6 separate regions of the Homo sapiens genome follow, and all the other regions are linked to region 1. The links are contacts of gene promoters, found by promoter capture Hi-C in human tissues and cell types (Jung and others, 2019). All regions are on one chromosome and are shown on one strand. Each heading gives the region's core, a stretch centred on a gene start or on the middle of the fragment in contact. The rest is flanking DNA. Distances are from core to core; before and after follow the strand shown. Region 1 holds the start of LYPD6B (LY6/PLAUR domain containing 6B). Region 2 overlaps LYPD6 (LY6/PLAUR domain containing 6). Region 3 has its middle 32 kb from the start of MIR9899. Region 4 overlaps LYPD6 (LY6/PLAUR domain containing 6). Region 5 overlaps LYPD6 (LY6/PLAUR domain containing 6). Region 6 overlaps LYPD6 (LY6/PLAUR domain containing 6).

Evidence for each region. Contacts are between HindIII fragments. The study calls those that stand out against the background at their distance.
Region 2: a contact is called between a fragment that was not itself captured here and the fragment with the promoter of LYPD6B in region 1, in 2 of the 25 tissues and cell types used here (heart left ventricle and mesenchymal stem cells).
Region 3: a contact is called between a fragment that was not itself captured here and the fragment with the promoter of LYPD6B in region 1, in 2 of the 25 tissues and cell types used here (aorta and mesenchymal stem cells).
Region 4: a fragment that was not itself captured here is called in contact with the fragment with the promoter of LYPD6B in region 1 in 5 of the 25 tissues and cell types used here (H1 embryonic stem cells, bladder, hippocampus and 2 more).
Region 5: a fragment that was not itself captured here is called in contact with the fragment with the promoter of LYPD6B in region 1 in 5 of the 25 tissues and cell types used here (heart left ventricle, heart right ventricle, lymphoblastoid cells and 2 more).
Region 6: a contact is called between a fragment that was not itself captured here and the fragment with the promoter of LYPD6B in region 1, in 4 of the 25 tissues and cell types used here (H1 embryonic stem cells, lymphoblastoid cells, mesenchymal stem cells and 1 more).

What each region holds. Positions count from the first base shown.
Region 1 is chr2:149,036,834-149,040,803 of GRCh38, reverse strand. It overlaps LYPD6B (LY6/PLAUR domain containing 6B), which reads right to left and starts at 2,105. Exons shown (of 7, transcript NM_177964.5): 1 at 2,003-2,105. RefSeq lists enhancers at 1,613-1,672, 1,713-1,762, 2,976-3,035 and silencers at 1,843-2,002, 2,013-2,352. The HindIII fragment of the contact is 10,219 bases long and covers 1-3,970 here.
Region 2 is chr2:149,467,897-149,471,381 of GRCh38, reverse strand. It overlaps LYPD6 (LY6/PLAUR domain containing 6), which reads right to left. Exons shown (of 5, transcript NM_194317.5): 4 at 2,607-2,737; 5 at 1-699. The coding sequence ends at 532. Among named protein-coding and RNA genes, the nearest start is that of MMADHC-DT, 120 kb to the left of the region's middle. The HindIII fragment of the contact is 4,136 bases long and covers 1-3,485 here.
Region 3 is chr2:149,296,451-149,300,095 of GRCh38, reverse strand. No RefSeq gene overlaps it. Among named protein-coding and RNA genes, the nearest start is that of MIR9899, 32 kb to the left of the region's middle. The HindIII fragment of the contact is 5,121 bases long and covers 1-3,645 here.
Region 4 is chr2:149,401,297-149,404,831 of GRCh38, reverse strand. The region is part of intron 1 of LYPD6 (LY6/PLAUR domain containing 6); the gene reads right to left. Among named protein-coding and RNA genes, the nearest start is that of LYPD6, 72 kb to the right of the region's middle. The HindIII fragment of the contact is 5,604 bases long and covers 1-3,535 here.
Region 5 is chr2:149,373,898-149,377,391 of GRCh38, reverse strand. All of the region lies in intron 1 of LYPD6 (LY6/PLAUR domain containing 6), which reads right to left. Among named protein-coding and RNA genes, the nearest start is that of LYPD6, 45 kb to the right of the region's middle. The HindIII fragment of the contact is 5,007 bases long and covers 1-3,494 here.
Region 6 is chr2:149,421,094-149,424,965 of GRCh38, reverse strand. All of the region lies in intron 1 of LYPD6 (LY6/PLAUR domain containing 6), which reads right to left. Among named protein-coding and RNA genes, the nearest start is that of LYPD6, 92 kb to the right of the region's middle. The HindIII fragment of the contact is 3,728 bases long and covers 520-3,872 here.

The DNA.
Region 1 (3,970 bases), core at 856-3,355:
TGACTGATGGAATACGGCCCTCAGGCTGTCTACATTCTACTGCAGACTACCTTTAGGCGCTGGTGAGCAAAGACAGAGATAGTAAAATGAACATGTCCTGTTTTGTCAGACTTCTCATTGGGAATTGCGCCCCCTACCGACATGCCTTGCAGCAGAGGTGGGCCAGTCTATCAATCACAGTCGGTCATGTGCCCATTCCTGTTGTGTAAACCTCTCCCTGTCTGCTGAGATGGCTTGGTTCTGTTTTGGTCCAGTATGTCAATAAGATTGCTATAAGGGGCCGGGTGCAGTGGCTCACTCCTATAATCCCAGCACTTTGGGAGGCCAAGACGGGCAGATCACTTGAGGTTAGGAGTTCGAGACCAGCCTGGCCAACATGGTGAAACCTCATCTCCACTAAAAATACAAAAATTAGTCCCACGTGGTGGCCGGCGCCTGTAACTCCAGCTACTTGGGAGGCTGAGGCAGGATAATCGCTTGGACCTGGGAGGTGGAGGTTGCATGCAGTGAGCCGAGATCACACCACTGCACTCCAGCCTGGGTGACAGAGTGAGAGTCTGTCTCAAAAGAAAAAAAAAAAAAGAGAGAGAGAGAGAGAGACAGAGAGAGACTGCTATACGGATAGAGAAGATGGGATTCTCTCTCTCCCTCTTTGTCTCTGTCTCTCTCTCTGAAGGAGCAGATAAGCCTGAAGGTGCAAGTCCTATTTATCGTCCATACTAAGAACCAGTAAACACAGAGAGAAAAACAGCTAAGATATACAAGAGAGAGAACTAGCCCTGGAACCTTGTATGAGCCTCTGGAACTAGCTATAGCTTTAAACTGAAACCCTCGACCTTTTCATTTATGTGACCCAATCAATTTCTACATAGTATAAGGCAATTTTCAAGTGACCAAAACCCAACCCAAAGAAAACAATTCTGACAAATACGATGGGTAATGATGAGGGCAGTCTGACAACACCCCCTCCATCTGCAGGGCCCGTGCACTGGCAGCCCTAATCTTGGCCTCTGTGATGCTGTCAGCAAGTAAGGCATCCTGGAGGAAGCCTAACCATGAACAAGTCAGGGTGGGAAAGAATGCCCCCACCCCACAACACACACATCACCACATCAACACAAAGGGGGAAAAATCAAGCAGTATGCTATGTACTCCATGAACATCATATAACCTAAGTCTGTTGTAATGATTATAATATTAATAATACCTATTTTACTTTAAGGGAACTGAGGCTCAGAGCAGTTCAGTAACTTGCCCAAGGTCACACAGCTAGTTACTGGAATTTAAATAGCATTCTAGACTTTTCCCACTCTCTGATCCCCTGGCCTTGGGAGGTGGACAGCACCCCTCCACCCACCAGCTCCCCCCAAACGCCACAGGGCATACAGACCTGAAGCCTCACAACCCAAGCCCCCTGGAGTCAGAGCAGCCTCCAGACCCGGCTTTTGAGAAGCCCCAGGTAACTAACCAATGTGTAAGGTAGGTTATTCAACAACAAAAGTAAAGAGCCGGGGCAAGGGAAGCGGCGGCACCCAAGCTGGTCGCGCGTGAAGCGCTGCAGGGGGAAACACTGGAGCTGGCACGCTCGCTCTTGGCCCCACGATCGGCCTTGAACCCCAGCCCCAGCTCCGCGCTCTCTCCAGCAGTTTGACCCCCAGTATCTCCTCTCCCCTCGGCTCTGCCGAAGTCACTGGCCCCGCAGGGCTCTGGACGATTAGAGACCCACACCGCTCCAGCCTTGCCCCGGCCCCCTGCTCCCGTCCCGTCCAGATGTTGGCAGCTGCTCGCCTCGAGGCAGCGACCAGACCCCGACCCCGCCACTGCGCCGCGGCCCCGCGGCCCCGCGGCCCCGCGGCCCCGCGAGCTCCTGGCTGCCCCAGCGCGCCCAGAAGGGGCGCAGCGCATCTCCCGCCGCAGTCGCGCGGCCCCGCACTCGCTCCGGCGCGGGGTGAGCCGTCCCGAACCCACCACCGCCCCCGCCTGCTGCGCTGGCCCAGCTCACCTCGCCGCCCGCGCCCACCGAGCCTCTCGGCGCCCTCACCCGGCTCCCGGCCCAGGCTCCCAGCGCACCCGCCTGGGGCCGGCGTTGGCTGCTACCGCGCGGGGCGGGGCGCGGCTCCTCCCTGCCCTGAACCACCTGGGGCGCGGGAGGGGGCCGGGCCGGGACAGGTGAGCCTCGCCCGCGAGGGAGCAGCCCCGGGCCCGGCTCCGCTGGGAAACCGCAGGGCTCCACCACGAGGTTGAAAGGAGGCCCAGGCGGGCGGCAGTGTGGTAGTGGCCAGCGCTGGGGAGGCGGCAAGGAGCCTGTTCCCACCCAGCCAGCCCGGCTCAGGAAGTGAAAGAAGCACGGGATTCGGACCCCACCCAGCTTAAAGAGGGGAGGGTCCAACCCCTTTCTTCCTAGAAAACCAATGTAGAAACGAGGAGTGCAGACCCTCGGGAGTGAAAATGATTGGGCCAAGGGTGCAGGTGAGTTAGTTCAGGATTGGAAGAACTCTGAAAGACCTTTTTTGACCATTCCATCCAACCCCGTCCCCACCTTGCCCACCCGTCAAGTGATTCCCTCCCCCTTTTTAAATAATGACATTAAGCTATAAATAAGATAATTTCATATAGTGACGTCCTCCCCACCCCTGGACGGTAAGCCCCAGGAGAGGCAGGAACCTTACCCGTCCACTACTGAATCACCAGAGCTTTGAAAACTCAGGGCATTTAATACCTGATGAACAGACTAGGTGGCGCCCAGTCTTTTGCGTCCAGCGTTAGACTGGTCCCCTCGGCCCAGAGCTGCTCCAGCATCATTCCAAGCTTACTAGGGAGAATCCAGAGGCAAGCTGTTAGATTCCGGGCCACCTGTCCTCTCTCTACTGCTTACTCCCCACCCACTGCCAGCCAGGCAGCTGGGATGTGGGAGGTCTACACTCCCAGGGCACCTTATAGTGGTCAAGCAAATCTTTAACTTCTGAAGATGCCACAGACAGGAGAACTCTGAAATAAAACACTGTCCGGCCAGCCTTGCACTGTGGAAACACAGCTCAGAGTATGGGCCACTGACCCAAGATTCCATGGCTGGTAGCAAAGCTGATCCTGGGTCTGCATTTCTAAAGACAGTTGGCTGGTCTGGGGCCTTTGAGGGGCTGCTGGTTATGCCTGCAGTGGGGAAACCTGGGTACAGAACTTCTGCAGAAGTGGGGTCTGGGTTTGGTCCTCTGCTGAGACTTCTAATCTGTCTTTCCAGACCTCTGAGGTCAAGCATCTCCTGAGCCAGCTTGCATTTATTGAGGCCCCTGACAACCGCAAAAACAAAAACAATGGTATTTTTAGGTGTTCCATTTAACAAATGGCCTTCACTCACACACACACACACACACACACACACACACACACACACACACGAGGTAATGTGTCATGCTGCTCCTCACATGTTAATTTCAAGACTCGTTAAAAAAATCCATTCCGTGAAAAAATTCATTTCACTGCAGAAAGCACTGTACAACTTTAAAGTTGTATGGAGAACATTCCTTCTTATGACTATTTCAGTACACTTCCGTGACTATATATTAAACCTCCAAGGCCAAAATGGGAGGATCTCTATTAAGGTGAGGTCAGGGCCAAGAAGACTGCTCCACCCCTCCACTGACAACAAGCCCAACACTCTTAAGGTCTAGACACCCCACCCCTTCAGTGGGTTCTGCACATATGGGTATTTCAGATCTGGTGTTACCTGGCTGGCTACGTCACACTGGGCAAGGCCAACCTAGAAAAGGTTATATGGGATGCCCCACCTAGGTGTGCCCTACCTCAGTTGCTACTCCCTCTATGGTGGCAGGGAATCTGGTGTCCCAGGGTGGAGCTGTGGTGGGGCCTGCACTTTGGGACAGCCACTTGCACCAGCAGGTAGGGCTGAGCAAAGGAGCACCTCTGGGTCTCACTCACATGAAATGGACCTAGACCTTTTTTTGTGTTGGTT
Region 2 (3,485 bases), core at 493-2,992, 430 kb before region 1:
GGAATTGTTGGAATTACTACTCTTCCAGGGACTCAGTCAGAATTTCCAAGGAAATAGTCCATTCAGTTTGGAGTCAATGTTTTAAAATTCTAAAGCTACAAATGAACTCATGATTATATTTAAACCAATGGTTACTTTTCTCCTGAAAAGCCCACATCTATACATGCCCCTATAACATACTCCTAATATCTTACAGTCTCAGGACCTACTGCATCTCATGCATGTATTCTTCCAAATTAAGAACCCCAGATCTCGATAAATGCAGAACTACTTCTTGGAATGAAAACAAACGTTTATGGTATGGAACTTGGGCTGTACTGACAGAAGGCTTTGATGAGTCTCGGTTAGACTCAAAATGGCTACAATGAAGCAACATTTATTCCTCATGGTAAGTGGCAATGCTTGGCTGTGATGACCTCCAAGAGTGTTGTGTCTCACATGTGTAATTACTGTCAGGCCAATGACTCATGCAGGTCTGTGGACCATCGAGATCCCCATGGATCGCTATTAACACATGGAGCCACTGAGCCACTATAACATGAGCCCTAACCACAACCACAAGCAGGACACTATCACTGACATACAGCGTGGGTGCCCATTTGTCTGATTTATAGGTGACGTCGTGGCAAATGTGGCATCAGTTTCATTTCGGGGCAGTGGCAAGTTACAGATATTTCCTTCACAACAAGAAGTGCAGACCTGAAAGAAAGGAAGAAAAAAAGATAATGAGAAGCCAGCATGTCTTGGAAGGAGGCAGGGTTTTTGAAGGCACTGTCGCCCACATGGCAAGATGCAAGTAAAAATTACCTAATCTATAAAGGAGATGCCAACTCTACGTTCAGGAAGGCTGGGGATAATATTTCTTCTAGAAGCAATCTGGTCAACATGAAAACTCCCCAGGCCAAACTTCAAGAGAGCTAGGTTTTGTTTTTGACACCCTCCACCCATACGATTCTTACAAAGGTGTATAGCCTTCCTGGGCCTCAGTTCTTTCGCCCTTAAAATGGGAATAAAGAAACTCGTCCGTGTTTTTCCATGAGGCTCTTTCTGACTACTTGAGGAAGAGAGGGTAAGCCTTCGTTTGCCAAGTTTTCAAGTGAGAGTCAAGTGGCAACAACCCGGGTGGTTTAAACTTGAGTACTGACTTTCACAGAACTGTTTGCATAAGTGTCTCCATTCTCATTGGGTGAGTTAATGTTTGAAGGGTTTTCATTCATGCAGTTACTCCTGCTTTACACCACCTTACTCGTGGATCATTAGAAAGAAATAAACCCACAGAGTTAGTGACAAAAACTTTCTTGGGGCATGGCTACACAAAGTACAGACCAGCAGCTCCAACATCAGCTGGGAGTTTGTTACAAGTGCAGAATCTCAAACCTTGCCCCAGACAAAGAATTAGGACTACATTTTAACAAGATTCCCAGGTGATTCCTAGTCATAGGATGGTTATTAATAACATTCTATACAGTCATTTTCCTGCAGGGATTTGAGTCTTTAGTCACAGTGACACGTGCCAGGAAGTCAGTATAATGTTGCGGAGGTAGACTCCAAACCAGAGGTGAGTTGGAATTCTGTGCCTGTCACTTACCAGCTGTGTGACCGAGCATATGACCCAATTTCTCTAATCCTTAACTTTCTCCTTGGTAAAGAGGCCACAGTAACTCCTCAGAATCAAGTCCAATTTGCTGGAGAGGTCAGGGAAAGCCTTTGGTTTTACTCATTTTGAACCAGGAGCAGAATAGGCAGATTATATTTAAAATTTTAATTATTAGTGTATTCAAGAGGTTGCTTGAAAATTAGGTGTCTGCCTTCTTAAGAAACAGTGCTGTTCCCAGGTATTGAGAATGGACATTGCCCAAACCACCAGGAAGGCCACCTGCAGAAGTGTTCAGCTGCTAAATAAAGGCCAAAGTATGCTATGTTAAGGTCACACGTATAGACAGCATATAGACATGTATAGACACACGTATAGAGGGCAAGGCTGCCTTTCTGTGATTGTCCATATGCCCCTTCAAGGCTGCCTCCCAAGCTCATTTTACACTGAGTGCTTCTGTACATAGGCACCATGTGTTTCCGTATACAGGCTTCTACAGGTACCAGGTGAAGCTTAAGCGAACACACAAGATGGGTCTCCATCACCTATCAAATGACTCAAGAGCCAATGGAGACCCTCCCCAAACTAACATCCCAGTCACAACATGAGCCCTACTTTACAGAAAGTTATCAAAGCTGAATTGCGTCGGTCCTCCTGTGATGAATGAACTGGGTACATCTGCAAAGCTTCACTGTGATGGACATAACTGGTCTCTTGCTCCTCTTTTTTCTGGTAGCTTTATTACTTTCCTCTGAGTGAAGAAAGTTATTACAATAACACTGAACACCCTCTTCATGTGTGTTTACACAATTTATATCAGTTGTCCTATGCTCTGGTATAAATGTGTATTCTTTTAGAGTAAACAGGAAAGGAAGCGTCTTTTCATAGAGCATAAAGACAATCAAAAGACAGCCTTCACGGGGGAGTAAGAATCTGCTCATGAGTACTGGCAGATGTCTGAAGAGAAGGCAGCTGGCTATGTAGTACTGGTCACTTGCTCTGTTGCCCAGACCTTGTGGCCTTCATGCTCGGAGTCTCTGCAGCCAGTGGATAAGCACTCTTCCAGTGGGACACAGCGTTTGGTGACTGAGATACTGTTTCCTGTGACTTCCATTGTGTGCTGAGTGTAGCAGTATCTGGTCTCTGTCAACAGAGAAAATATATTTGAGATGGGAAATGTTGACCAAACCTGCCTAAAAGGAAAATAACAGGAGTGTCAGCATTATCATTCCAGAAAAGAGCTAATAGCACATAAGATGTGCACTGCTTTGAGTTTATGTCCAACCCCAAAGACCTCTTTGGAGAGCTCCACTTTGCCATGGTAGGAGGACAACCTTCAAAGAATATTGATTTCTCTGCCCAGCATTATTCCCATAAACCAAGACACAATGGTTTCTCCTTGCCTTTCAACAAATTTTGCCACTGGACTGATTTTTATTTTTAGGGGATGAGTGGTTTTGCGGGGATGATTTAAGAGGTATAAGTCATAGCAATTTTAAGGAAGATGAAAGGACAAAGAGGTTCAAAGAACTCAGGGTTAAAATGAGTTAGGCAGGTAACAGTAGTCCTCAAGGAGATAAAACACTACAGCAGTGGCTGGTGTGTGTGTGTGTGTGTGTGTGTGTGTGTGTGTGTGTGTGTGTGTGTGTGTGTGTTGGGGGGAAGCAGCTATTCACAAGAGCAGAACAATTTAAAACTTTGTGCCAATGAGCATAGCTGGGTCCAGGGTGCATTACAGACGAAGACTGAAACAATAATGAACATTTTTCCAAAATTGAGGAGCTTCGTTTCTCCCTAGCATGATTTCAGTGTCTTCCTAGGACAACAGATGAAGACCATGATGGGAGTTTCCAGAGGTCCCTCTATGTCTAATGAATCTGAAAGCTTGAGA
Region 3 (3,645 bases), core at 915-3,414, 260 kb before region 1:
ACAAAGAGCACAATGAATACAATGGCACCTAAGATTTCAATATTAACATTGAATGTAAATGGCCTAAATGCTCCACTGAAAGATAAAGTACCACAAAATGCATAAGAACTCACCAACCAACTATCTGCTGCCTTCAGGAGACTCACCTAACACATAAGGACTCATATAAAATTAAAGTAAAGGGGTGGAAAAGGGAATTTCATGCAAATGGACACCAAAAGCAAGCAGGGGTAGCTATTCTTACGTCAGACAATACAAATTTTAAAACAACAGCAGTTAAAAGAGATAAAGAGGGACATTATATAATGGTAAAAGGCCTTGTCCAACAGGAAAATATCACAGTCCTAAACATATATGCACCTAACACTGGAGCTTCCAAATTTATAAATCAATTACTAATAGACCTAAGAAATGATATAGACAGCAGCACAATTGTAGTGGGGGGACTTCAATACTCCACTGACACCACTAGACAGGTGATCAAGACAGAAAGTCAACAAAGAAACAATGGATTTAAACTATACCTTGGAACAAATGGACTTAACAGATATATACAAAACATTTCATCCAACAACCACAAAATACACATTCTATTCAACAGCACATGGAACTTTCTCCAAGATAGACCACATGATAGGCCATAAAAGGAGCCTCAATAAATTTAAGAAAATTGAAATTATATCAAGCACTGTTTCAGACCACAGTGGAATAAAACTGGAAATCAACTCCAAAAGGAACCTTCAGAATCATGCAAATACATAGAAATTAAATAACCTGCTCCTGAATGAGCATTGAGTCAAAAACAAAATCAAGATGAAAATTAAACAATTCTTCAAACTGAATGACAATAATGACACAACTGGCCAAAACCTCTGGGATACAGCAAAGGCGGTGCTAAGAGGGAAGTTCATAGCCCTAAACACCTACTTCAAAAAGACTGAAAGAGCACACACTGACATTCTAAGGTCGCACCTCAAGGAACTAGAGAAACAAGAACAAACCAAACTCAAACCCAGCAGAAGAAAGAAAATTACCAATATCTGAGCAGAAATAAATGAAATTGAAATGAACAAACAAAAAATTGCAAAAGATAAATGAAACAAAAAGTTGGTTCTTTGAAAAGATAAATAAAATTGATAGTTCATTAGCAAGATTAACAGAGAAGAGAGAAAATCCAAATAACCTCACTAAGAAACAAAACAGGAGATACTACAACTGACACCACTGAAATACAAAAGATCTTTCAAGGCTATTATGAACACCTTTATGCACATAAACTAGAAAACCTAGAAGAGATCTATAAATTTCTGAAAAATACAACCCTCTAGCTTAATTCAGGAAGAATTAGATACCCTGAACAGACCAATTATAAGCAGTAAGATTGAAATGGTAATTTAAAAATTACCAATAGGAAAAAGTCCAGGACCAGGTGGATTCACGGCAGAATTCTACCAGATATTCAAAGAAGAATTGGTAGCAATCCTTTTGACACTATTCCACAGGATAAAGAAGGAATGCTCCCTAATTCCTTTTATGAAGCCAGCGTCACCCTAATACCAAAACCAGGAAAGGATATAACCAAAAAAGAAAACTACAGACTGATATCTTTGATGAACATAGATGCTAAAATCCTTAACAAAATACTGGCCAACTGAATCCAAAAACATATCAAAAAGATATTCCACCATGATCATGTGGATTTCATACCAGGGATGCAGAGATGGTTTAACATATGCAAGTCAATAAATGTGATACGCCACATAAACAGAATTAAAAACAAAAATCACATGATCATCTCAATAGATGCAGAAAAAGCATTTGACAAAATCCAGCATCACTTTTTGATTAAAACTCTCAGCAAAATCAGCATACAAGAGACATACCTCAATGTATTAAAAGCCATCTATGACAAAACCACAGCCAACATAATACTGAATGGGGAAAAGTTAAACGCATTCCCTCTGAGAACTGGAACAAGATAAGGATGTCCATTCTCACTACTCCTCTTCAATATAGTAGTGGAAGTCCTAGCCAGAGGAAACAGACAAGAGAAAGAAATAAAGGACATCCAAATCGGTAAAGAGGCAGTCAAACTGTCACTGCTGACAATCTGATCGTTTACCTTGAAAACCCTAAGAACTCCTCCAGAAAGCTCTTAGAACTGATCAAAGAATTCAGCAAAGTTTTCAGATACAAGATTAATGTACAAAAATCAGTAGCTCTTCTATACACCAACAGCAACCAAGTGGAGAATCAAATCCATAAAAGGGGATTTGATTTTATAAAAGGGGAGGGTCTCCCTTTCCCCTTTCCCACTTCCATTTGGATGTGGAGCCTCATGTGCTTTGTGTAAGAGGCTTTGTCCCAGAGACTCTGCTAATATAACTGGTGTTCATGTATTTGGCTTTTCTGGTGATTTCCTCACAATTCCTCAAAATTCCTTAAAGTCTTATATTATCATGGCATTGAATTAAAGGCATTTCTCTGCCTGTGAATTATAGAACACAGCTTTCAAATAACCTGGTTGAGAAGTAATAGAACTCCTCTATTTTCTGCCAAGAACCCCTGTGAATTACTCTCAGGAATAAGAACACAGGATTTAGTTGAAGTTAGTAGCTTTCCCCTTCCAATATGTATAATCCTTAAACAAATCATGTTCTGGTAGATGATCCAGAATTGAGTGCTTCCCTAGAATTCAACATAGTTGTTCTTCACTTTTTATTTTTCTCCTAAACAAGCACTGAATTATCTTGGGAAGGTAAGCCAGATGAGAGAGCCATTGCAAGCCCAGAGAATAAAAGTTCTCAGTATATTCCATATTCCTTCTCAAACACAGACCTTATTGCTAGCTGAGAGCAGAAAAGCCAAGTGGAAGAGAAGGCAGTTCTTTATTTATTATTAAGCACAGTGTATTTAATATAATTGGATATTATTGGTGGAGTGATTGCTCTAAAACAGAGATACTTAAACTCTCCAGCCAGCCCTGAATCAAACAGATATTGTAGGTGGGCTGATTCACACCCATTCGCAACACTTTTTCCCCCTGTCAACCTCTATCATAGAGAGTAGAAAAGTTAAATATTCATTTCACCCACCTCCCTTGCATAATGATGACCAGCCAATGAAATGTAAGTGGAAATCTGCTGGGGCTTTCTGGAAAAGCTTTTATAGCTCTGATAAAAAGAGACAATCACAGTTAGCATCATCCTCTCCTCCTTTAATTTGACTTGAACACAGGAGGGCTGTCTGGAGCAGCAGCAGCCATCTTGAAAGCAGGAGGTAATGACTAGGAGGACAAAAAGTACACAAAGAGATTGGATCCAGCATGGTGTTATTAACTATTTAAAAGAACAACAGCAATGGTTCTAGATTTTTTGTTATGTTAGATGCTCTGAGGCTAATATTTGTTGAGAAATCTGCTCTTATACCTAAATATATTCTTAACAAATACACAGGAATAACAGAAAAACCAAAGCTATCTGATACCTCTCATTTCTCGATTAGAATTAGTGCTTTTGTTTTTAAGATAATAGCATGTCTTGTATAATGAGCCAGTATTTTTTTCCAGAATAACTTTGACATGTCTCTACACAGAAATTAATGTTCCTATCTCAACTGACACACATGTGGCAAGAACAATAAGGG
Region 4 (3,535 bases), core at 335-2,834, 360 kb before region 1:
AAGCATTCCCTTTGAAAACTGGCACAAGACAGGGATGCCCTCTCTCACCACTCCTATTCAACATAGTGTGGGAAGTTCTGGCCAGGGAAATTAGGCAGGAGAAGGAAATAAAGGGTATTCAAATACGAAAAGAGGAAGTCAAATTGTCCCTGTTTGCAGACGACATGATTGTATATCTAGAAAACCCCACTGTCTCAGCCCAAAATCTCCTTAAGCTGATAAGCAACTTCAGCAAAGTCTCAGGATACAAAATCAATGTGCAAAAATCACAAGCATTCTTATACACCAATAACAGACAAACAGAGAGCCAAATCATGAGTGAACTCCCATTCACAACTGCTTCAAAGAGAATACAATACCTAGGAATCCAACTTACAAGGGATGTGAAGGACCTCTTCAAGTAAAACTACAAACCACCGCTCAATGAAGTAAAAGAGGATACAAACAAATGGAAGAACATTCCATGCTCATGGGTAGGAAGAATCAATATCGTGAAAATGGCCATACTGCCCAAGGTAATTTATAGATTCAATGCCATCCCCATCAAGCTAACAATGATTTTCTTCACAGAATTGGAAAAAACTACTTTAAAGTTCATATGGAACCAAAAAAGAGCCCGCATCGCCAAGTCAATCCTAAGCCAAAAGAACAAAGCTGGAGGCATCACGCCACCTGACTTCAAACCATACTACAAGCCTACAGTAACCAAAACAGCATGGTACTGGTACCAAAACAGAGATATAGATCAATGGAACAGAACAGAGCCTTCAGAAATAATGGCGCATATCTACAACTATGTGATCTTTGACAAACCTGGGAAAAATAAGCAATAGGGAAAGGATTCCCTATTTAATAAATGGTGCTGGGAAAACTGGTTAGCCATGTGTAGAAAGCTGAAACTGGATCCCTTCCTTACACTTTATACAAAAATTAATTCAAGATGGATTAGAGACTTAAACGTTAGACCTAAAACCATAAAAACCCTAGAAGAAAACCTAGGCATTACCATTCAGGACATAGGCAGGGGCAAGGACTTCATGTCTAAAACACCAAAAGCAATGGCAACAAAAGCCAAAATTGACAAATGGGATCTAATTAAACTAAAGAGCTTCTGCACAGCAAGAGAAACTACCATCAGAGTGAACAGGCAACCTACAAAATGGGAGAAAATTTTCACAACCTACTCATCTGACAAAGGGCTAATATCCAGAATCTACAATGAACTCAAACAAATTTACAAGAAAAAAAACAAACAACCCCATCAAAAAGTGGGCGAAGGACATGAACAGACACTTCTCAAAAGAAGACATTTATGCAGCCAAAAAACACATGAAAAAATGCTCACCATCACTGGCCATCAGAGAAATGCAAATCAAAACCACAATGAGATACCATCTCACACCAGTTAGAATGGCAATCATTAAAAAGTCAGGAAACAACAGGTGCTGGAAAGGATGTGGAGAAATAGGAACACTTTTACACTGTTGGTGGGACTGTAAACTAGTTCAACCATTGTGGAAGTCAGTGTGGCGATTCCTCAGGGATCTAGAACTAGAAATACCATTTGACCCAGCCATCCCATTACTGGGTATATACCCAAAGGACTACAAATCATGCTGCTATAAAGACACATGCACACATATGTTTACTGCGGCACTATTCACAATAGCAAAGACTTGGAACCAACCCAAATGTCCAACAATGATAGACTGGATTAAGAAAATGTGGCACATATACACCGTGGAATACTATGCAGCCATAAAAAAGGATGAGTTCATGTCCTTTGTAGGGACATGGATGAAATTGGAAATCATCATTCTCAGTAAACTATCATAAGGACAAAAAACCAAACACTGCATGTTCTCACTCATAGGTGGGAATTGAACAATGAGAACACATGGACACAGGAAGGGGAACATCACACTTTGGGGACTGTTGTGCGGTTGGGGGAGGGGGGAGGGATAGCATTAGGAGATATACCTAATGCTAAATGACGAGTTAATGGGTGCAGCACACCAGCATGGCACATGTATACATATGTAACAAACCTGCACGTTGTGCACATGTACCCTAAAACTTAAAGTATAATTATAATAAAATAAAAAAATAAAAAAAAAGTGGGCTAAGGACATGAATAGACAATTCTCAAAAGAAGATACACAAACAGCCAACAAGTATATGGAAAAATGCTCAGCATCACTAGTCATCAGGGAAATGCAAATCAAAACCACAATATAATACCAACTCACTCCTGCAAGAATGGCCATAATCAAAAATAACAGATGTTGGCATGGATGCCAAGGAGAAAAGGGAAAACGTCTACACTGTTAGTGGGAATGTAAACTAGTGCAGCCACTATGGAAAACAGTGTGGAGATTCCTAAGTGAACTAAAAATAGATCTACCATTTGATCCAGCAATCCCACTGCTAGGTATCTACCCAGAGGAAAATAAGTCATTATATGAAAAAGATATTTGCACATGCATGTTTACAGGAGCACAATTTGTAATTGTAAAAATATGGAACCAGCCCAAATGCCCATCAGTTAACATGTGGATAAAGGAAATGTAATACACACACACACACACACACACACACGCAAACACACACCATGGAATACTATTCAGCCATAAAAAGGAATGAAATAATGGCATTTGCAGCAACCTGGATGGAATTGGAGACTATTATTCTTTTTTTTTTTTAAGTTCTGGGATACACGTGCAGAACGTGCAGGTTTGTTACATAGGTATACATGTGCCATGGTGGTTTGCTGCACCTGTCAACCCGTCATCTAGGTTTTAAGCCTCTCATGAATTAGGTATCCAGAGACTATTATTCTAAGTGAAGTAACTCAGAAGTGGAAAACCAAACATCACATGTTCTCACTCATATGTTGGAGCTAAGTTATGAGGATGCAAAGGCGTAAGAATGATACATTGAACTTTGGGGATTCGGGGGAAGGGGTGGGGGGTGGCAAGGGATAAAAGACTATGCAGTGGGTACAGTGTACACTACTCGGGTGTTGGGTGCACCAAAATCTCAGAAATCACCACTGAAGAACTTATTCATGTAACCAAACACCACCTGTTCCCCAAAAACCTATTGAGATTTAAAAATTTTAAATTAAAATAATACTAAAAATAAAAGATCTGGGAATAAACATTGGACACAAATCCTACTCTCAAGGCACTTACAAGCATAATGAGGTAATATTCCTAAAGTAGAGATTTCCACCAGATATAGAAAATGTGTATGTGGAAAAAGACAGGGAATATGAGATGTGTGGATACAGAGTACCATCAATGCTCGAAGAATGGACACTTAACCCCACCTGGGGCTCACAGAGGGCTTCCTGGAAGAGATGGCACAGACAGAGCCTTCCAGATGAGCAGAAATCAGCTGGAACAAAGATAGAGGGGAATGGTGAAGGCTCCTGTGCCTGGCACTTCTGCTTACATATCCCAAATCCAATCACTCCTTCTTCATTATGAATAGAAAAATTTTGTTCAGGGTGGCAACCGGCCTGACCCAAAAT
Region 5 (3,494 bases), core at 339-2,838, 340 kb before region 1:
TTTAAGTCTGATAAAGCAGCTCCTGTGTGCGGTGCCCACTTCAACCTGGGACTTGCTTGGCAGTTGTGTTTTTTTTTTTCCAGTGATTAAGCCAAGCAGGCAGATTCCTGCATAGTCTCCTTGCAACAGAACCTGCCAGCAGACCTGACAGACAACATCACTCCGCATGTTTCCAAGAAAAAAAAAAAAGGAAAAAAGAAAGAAAAGAGTCATCTACTTCACCACAAAAAACCACTTGCCTATTCAAAGTCATTTGTTGTTAGACAAAGTTCTAAACCAGGGGTCATCAGTTTTCTTAGCAGCAATAGTCCAGACCCTGGTTAAGACAGTGGAGCCCTATAGTGAGATGGCTCATATATGTATAACCATATACAGCAGAAGTCTGATTTTATGCTATCTCCTGATCCCAGTGACAAAGGAGATGCAAAGGTTTGGTGACTGCACTGTAGACAGTTTATATAAAACCAGGAGAAAAGAACATGGGAGCTTTGGATTGCTCCATATTTAATTAAATGAATTTAGTCAGTACTGCACCTACAAAATGCCAGATTCCAAATTAGGGAACAGTAGCAATGGTTACATGTGAGCTTTACCAGCAGTTCTGAGGATTTCAAATCTTTCTACACTTTATAAGCTTTACATGCGTCCCTGGATTAAGTTGCTTATCCCAGATAAGAAATTGTATATAAAGACAGTGAAACAGTGGGTAAGACACAATGAGTACCCAGTAATATATTTTTATTAGATCTTCTACACATGTATGGCATCTAATGATAATGAATTTTATATTAAATTGCAATATTATTAATTGCATTTAATTCTCACAACAACCCTATGAAGTAGTTATTATTAGTAGTATTTTACAGATGGGAGATTAGGAGATTAGGTTTATCTGACCTTGTTCTTTATCCCCTCCTCTAGAACATCCAAGCAGTGGTTTTTCCAAACTAGGAAGACCCCCCTACTGAGCAGAGTTAAGAAGGCAATGGAAAAAAAAAATGTTCTGGGCTCAGAATGGCGTGGGTGAGGGACTTCTAATTCCATTTATTTTAATAGTATTCAGATGAAATGCAGGGCATACAAATAGATATGCACAGTGCAAGTTAACCACCAGAAAGCTCTTCAATCTTGCCAAGTTAGACAGAGCTGTTTCTTTTGTACCAGTTTTAGACCGCAAATCTGGAGAATTTATCTGTAGGGCTGTTTTCCCAAGGCCTCCAAAACAGACCCAGGGCAAACCACACATCCCGGGCTGACACTGCTCAACTTCAGCTTCTGTTGTTTCAGCTCTGAGGCGGTTTCCATGCCAGCATGCAGCCCTTTTGTGTTTTTGCAGCTTCATCCCAGGCCACATTTGTTTAGGTGCGTTCACTATCTCCAGTTCAGCTGCCTTCTCTCAGGCTAAAATAACACTTGGCTTATGCACTAAGAAAACGCTGCTATTGTAATTTTGCAGTGGTAGCATTTTTGGAATCAGATTCGCAATTCTGTATGCTTTGCATATTGATGGCATTGTTCTCGTTAGTCACATCCTGTCTAACTCTCTCAGTATCCCAGTCCTCAGCTTCCCATCATCCCAGACGTACTCTTGTTGGAATTCCCCCTTCCACCTGTCAAACCCAGTTCCTTGCCTCCCTGCAATCACAGCAATAATAAAAAATAACAAACAGCAATAATAACAACACTGTCTCTTTATAGCACTTGGGAATTTCAAATGTCATGGTAACAGTTATAGCAATGGGCCCACAAAAAAGCATGGTAGAATAAACAGAGAAACAAGAATATACAAAGAGAAAATGTTGGGAGAACCCCAAACATTTTTCTGATTCTCTTTAGGAAAGGTATTTTCTAAATCTATTTTTAGACCACTGGGATTTCAGGGTCAAAGAACACATAAGAACTTGCTGAGCTTTATTTTCGTCATGCCAATACAGAGGGCAGGACCACATCAGTGCCCATTCAATAAACAGTAGGCATGATTATCATCATCATCATTCCTTCAGAGGAAAAGAAACCTCTCACTCAAGTGTTCCCCACTCACACCCCACCTACCTCCCACAGTCCATGACTTCATCTCGCCAAGACCCATTACAATTAGTTTGATACCAACTGTATATCAAAAATCACAGTGCCACCCACGGGCACTTACTTATTGGGTTCATTTACGCTGATGAAAAATACTCAAGAAATCAAGGTAAATCCTGGTTTGTCTACCTTCAGAATAAATCTACTCATACCTTCACCTCCATCTAAGAAAAATTTACGAAGGCACTGTGATTCTAACCCTTAACAAACCCTGAGGTCTGTGAAACAGCTCTTCTGATGAATCATGGACAACCCCCAAGTCTCTCTAGATCCTTGAAGACTGAAGATCACCTGGACCAAACTGAACATCCCATCTCCTCTGAAACCCTGACTTCCTGCCAGAACCAAACAAGCTCCACAAATAGTGGGAGTGAAGTTGTTTCCTTCACTGCTTTCTTTCCTGGTCATCCCAGCACATTTCCTTGCATGCAAAACAAAACAAAACCACTATTTTTCCTCATAATTGTATTATAATATCATATTGCATAAATATGACTATGCTGTAAAATCAAATTTCATCCTGAAAATATTAACCATGTATAGTAAAAGCCTAACATGTGCTACCTTCCTGTGAAGCAGGATGTTAACCCTCCCTGTTGACACCAGCAGAGGGAAACTTACTATAGACTGGACTTTCCGATTCTCAGGAGAACCTCCTAAATGCAAGAATAAGGAGAAAATTAATATAGATCATTTCTCTTAAGAGCCTAAGACTCAGCAAACAAGAGAAGGGAGATTGTCAGGGACAGACTTCCCTTCAGTGTAACTTTATTCAACACAATATCACTCGGGCACCTACTACTTGCTGGGCTCTATCTAGATAATACTCAAATTGTTGCCTTCATTCCCAATATCATGGAGCACCAGGATCCAGGGCTAGATGTCACTGTGTCACAGGAAGTAGGAAAGTCACACATCTACTCTACTTTTCAACCTCGACTAAACATTGAGTTGACATCAAATACAAAGCCATAAGATGCATCGTATTCACAAAACACTTCCTAAACTCCAGACCTGAACATAATTGAGACTTTTTTCCTTTGTTTTTCTTTTTTCTCAGTCTATGTATTTTAGTCAACAAAACCATATGCTTGACTTCTGAAATAAAGTGATGTGAGCCTTCCCTGCCCTGGTTTCTTTCCATTATTGAGATTTCCATAAGTTTAAGAAAAGATGCTGGCCATTTAGCCTCCAAGGATACTTAGCCTCAGGATCAGCTAGACAAAATCTAAATTTCCCAAGAAGTTCCCTCAATACTTTGCCCTTTAAAGCAATATGAATCAATTATCATGCAGTTCATTCCTGCATGGGGGCAGGAATGGACCATAAAATGACCTCTTTAAAAATCCAACTGAGTAAATATAAAGCCACAAAAATAGTTTCCCACAGCAACTTTCTATCTTCAATGT
Region 6 (3,872 bases), core at 1,134-3,633, 380 kb before region 1:
TGAAGCTTTCCAGTCTCCAACCAGACTGGCAACTAGGGCCCAATTCTGTCTTCAAAACAACCCTAAGACGAACCTTTGGGGAGGAAGTAAAGTGGGAGCTCCAGCAGCAATGAGAAGCATCGGTTCTGGGTAGAAGGGGAAGTCTACAAGCCTTCCCATGATCTGGTGCCTGCCTACCACTTGCCCCTTGACATTCCAGCTCAATTGACAGCGCCACTATGAATAGGTGTCTAGTGCACCACGCTGCTTCTCATTCAGTGCCTTGGCTCCTGCTGTCATCCTTGGTTTCCTTCAATTCACTACTGAAGTCTCAGTTCACTTCCTTTAGAAAGCCTCCCATCCCCTCTCCTCACACCAGATCAATTAGAAACCACCTTCTCTGCTCCTGTTTTGGCCTCTACCTATCTAAGGTGGCTACAGGCCTTATTTCGTAAGGACAATGAATGGGCTTTGTATTTTGACAGATTTGGGCTCAAGTCCCAGCTTTGCCACTTATTAGGTCTATGACCTTGGACAGGTTACTTTTTCTTTCCTCATCTCTAAAATGAGACCGATAGCTTCTATGCCGTAGGGACAAGATACGAATTAATATACCACATATAGCTTTCATTAGTTATTATGATTGCCAACATGTAGTAGAACTGTTAAGATGACATACTTTTTACTAAATTTTGAGCTCCTTAAGGGCGTAAATTTTATGGACATCATCTGATTTATCCTTAGGTCCCCAACCCCTATGACACAGGAGGTCTCTGATAGCGATTTGTTGATTTGATATAGAAGTAATCATAATAACTGCTTTTATAACAGAGGGATGTGTGTGTGTGTTGTGTGCATATTGACATGTGTACGCATGCTACAGGAACTTGGAAGAAGAAAAGAATTTGGGGTGTTTCTGGTGAGGAGGGTGAGAAGATAAAGCCATCTTGAGACGATGGCATCTTTCGGGGAAATCTTCAAGTCTTTGAGTAATACTTTTATCAGGGCTGGATTGGACCAGCAAAGGGTTCTGTCCCACATCTCCCAAATCAAGCTTACTCAGAGGCATCCATGGGAAATACTGTGCATTAAGAGTCAGAATACACATAAGCATATTAAAGGCTCTGAAATGTGCTGCAGTGAAGAAATCTCTTTGGTTTTGCTTAAGTCAGCATTTTCCCCACACTTATTTGAACAGTGACACCCCCCACCCCCCGCCCCGGCAGAGAGCTTATTTTTTAATGAACGTCTATTAACTAGTCTAGTTTTCTGAGGAGTAGTTTGGGGAACCAATGTCCTATTCAAAGTGTGTTATTTTATACATGAAGGAATTGAGGCATAGAGTATTTCAGGTATCTATCCGCAGAAAAAAGCTGGTAAACAATTAGAGCTTCAAGGGCAGCCTCGTTTTCCTGCCACCCTGGCTAGGACACTTTTCAGCCCAGTGTGCCATGTCACAGTCAGCAGAAACATAGCAACTCTAAACCTTGCTTAATTTCAACAGAGAAAGTAGGCAATCGTCTCATTTTGCAATGTACAGGGTGGTTAAAATCTACCCCAAATCTGCATCCCACCTATCAAAATTTCCCCCCTTCATCATGCAGCCTGATACCATCACGAACTGGAAATGTATTTAAGGTTCACAAATGTTTTCTTTTAAAATTCAAATAACCCAGAAGCTTACTTTAAGAGAACCTTCCTTTATTGAATGCTTCAGGCCAATCTAATTCCTTGACCTCCACATCCCACCTGAGATACAGCTGCCCCCACAGTGCTGATGAAAGAGGAAGGCAGAGGCTGGGAGGTGGGCAGGGCAGTCCAGCTGATCCTCCAGGTACATATGAGGTCACCCTGTACCTCCTTGCCCTGTGGGGGCAGATGGTTATCTGTCTTGGTGTTGCCTCCAACTGCCAACCCAGCTCAGGATCCATTACATTTTATAAAGATCAGATAAACCTCTATGTTCATTCCAATAATCAAATAAGTATACAAGGGGTATACTTATTTGATTATTGGGCACTGGAAATAAAAGGGCTTAGAGAAAAAGCTGTTAAAATTCAATTGCAGCAACATGGATGAACCTAGAGGACATTATGCTAAGTGAAATAAGCCAGGCACAGAAAGACAAACATTGTATTCTATGATCTCACTATATGTAGGACCTAAAAAAGTTGAACTCACAGAGGAAGAGTAGAATGATGCTTGTCAGGAGATGATGGGGGAAGACAGATAGATGGGAGACGTTGGTCAAAGGGTATAAAATGTCAGTGAGATAAGAGGAATAAGTTCTGGGGATCTGTTGTACAGCATGGTGACTAGAGTTAATAACAGTGTATCATATACTTGAAACTTGCTAAGAGAATAGTTCTTAAATGCTCTCATCACTAAAAAATCTTAAGTATGTGAAGTGATTGATAAGTTAATTAGCCTGATTTAATCATTTCACAATGTACACATATTTCAAATGGGTGTGGCAGCCACACCCAACAGCCACAAGCAGGCTGACCAGGAACCACTACAGCAAGGACATGAAGTGCTGGGCTCCAGAGCAGAGAGACCCCAGGCCCCATTACCCACTTGCTAGGCTTACTGTGAAGGAGAATATGTAATGCATCGAAAGCAGTGTGGTACAGTCCAGGAGCACAGGCTCTGGAGTGGGCCAGCTCAGCCTAGCACGCTGACTGCTCCTGGGAAGGTTGCTTAACCTCTCTGTGCCTTAGTTTCCTCAATTGCAAAATAGGGAAATTAAAACCTCTAGTTTAAAGGGCTCTTAGGAGGTTTAAAGGAGATAGTACACTTTGAACAATGCTAGCACATGCTTGCTAGCTAACATAGTCCTTAAAATCAGCTCACAGTAGGTGAAGAAGGCACCTGGTTACTCATCTGGGTCAAGACACTGCCCAGGAACGTTTGCTTTCCATTCAGAAAGACCTTTGAAAGGTCTTCCAAGAGGCGCCATAGCATGCCAAGCTCTATTATAAGAAGTCAAAAGCCTGGGTCACCACCTGTCAGACTTTCTAGCTGATCCCAAGCTAAGATCAGCATCTTGTGGTGAGGATAAAAACACAGGCAGAAGTGAAGCAAATTAGTTAGGGAAGGTCTGGGGCAGACCTTCTCAAATTTGAAAAGTGTTTTCTCCTATAAAAGGAGAAAACGGTTTCACAGACAGAACCTCACCCATTCCGTTAACTAATGAATGTTAATTATGATACTACTTATGAATACAGACAGAAAACTGATATTAAGCTTTAAAGTCCATATATGGCTTTAAAACTAAATAAAAATTGCCAAATATAAATATTATATTCAAATAAAATACATTGGTTACATGGAAAATAACAGCAACAATTAACGTTTATTGAGCACTTACTATAGGACTGAATAGTATTAGATTGCCACTATCCCATCATTTTCGACCTACAAAAACAGCAACTTCATATGGCTCAACCTAGTAGGTGCAAGGTGCTTCCATAGGTGCTTTCTGTAATCCCCACAACACTCAGTGTAGTAGGGGTAATTATTATTACTCCATTTTACAGATACAGAAACTGGGACATCAAGAAATAAAAACACACTTTTTTTTTTTTTTTTTTTTTTGAGATGGAGTCTTGCTCTGTCACCCAGGCTGGAGTGCAGTGGTATGATCTCAGCTCACTGCAACTTCTGTCTCCCAAGTTCAAGCAATTCTCTTGCCTCAGCCTCCCAAATAGCTGGGATTACAGGCATGCGCCACCAGGCCGGGCTAATGTTTTGTATTTTTAATAGAGACAGGGTTGTTGGCCAGGCTGGTCTCAAACTCCTGACTTCAAGTGATCTGCCCGCCTTGGCCTCCCAAAGTGCTGGGATTAAAGAAAGTGGTGGGATTAAAGAAAAGTGCTGGGATTAAAGAAAGA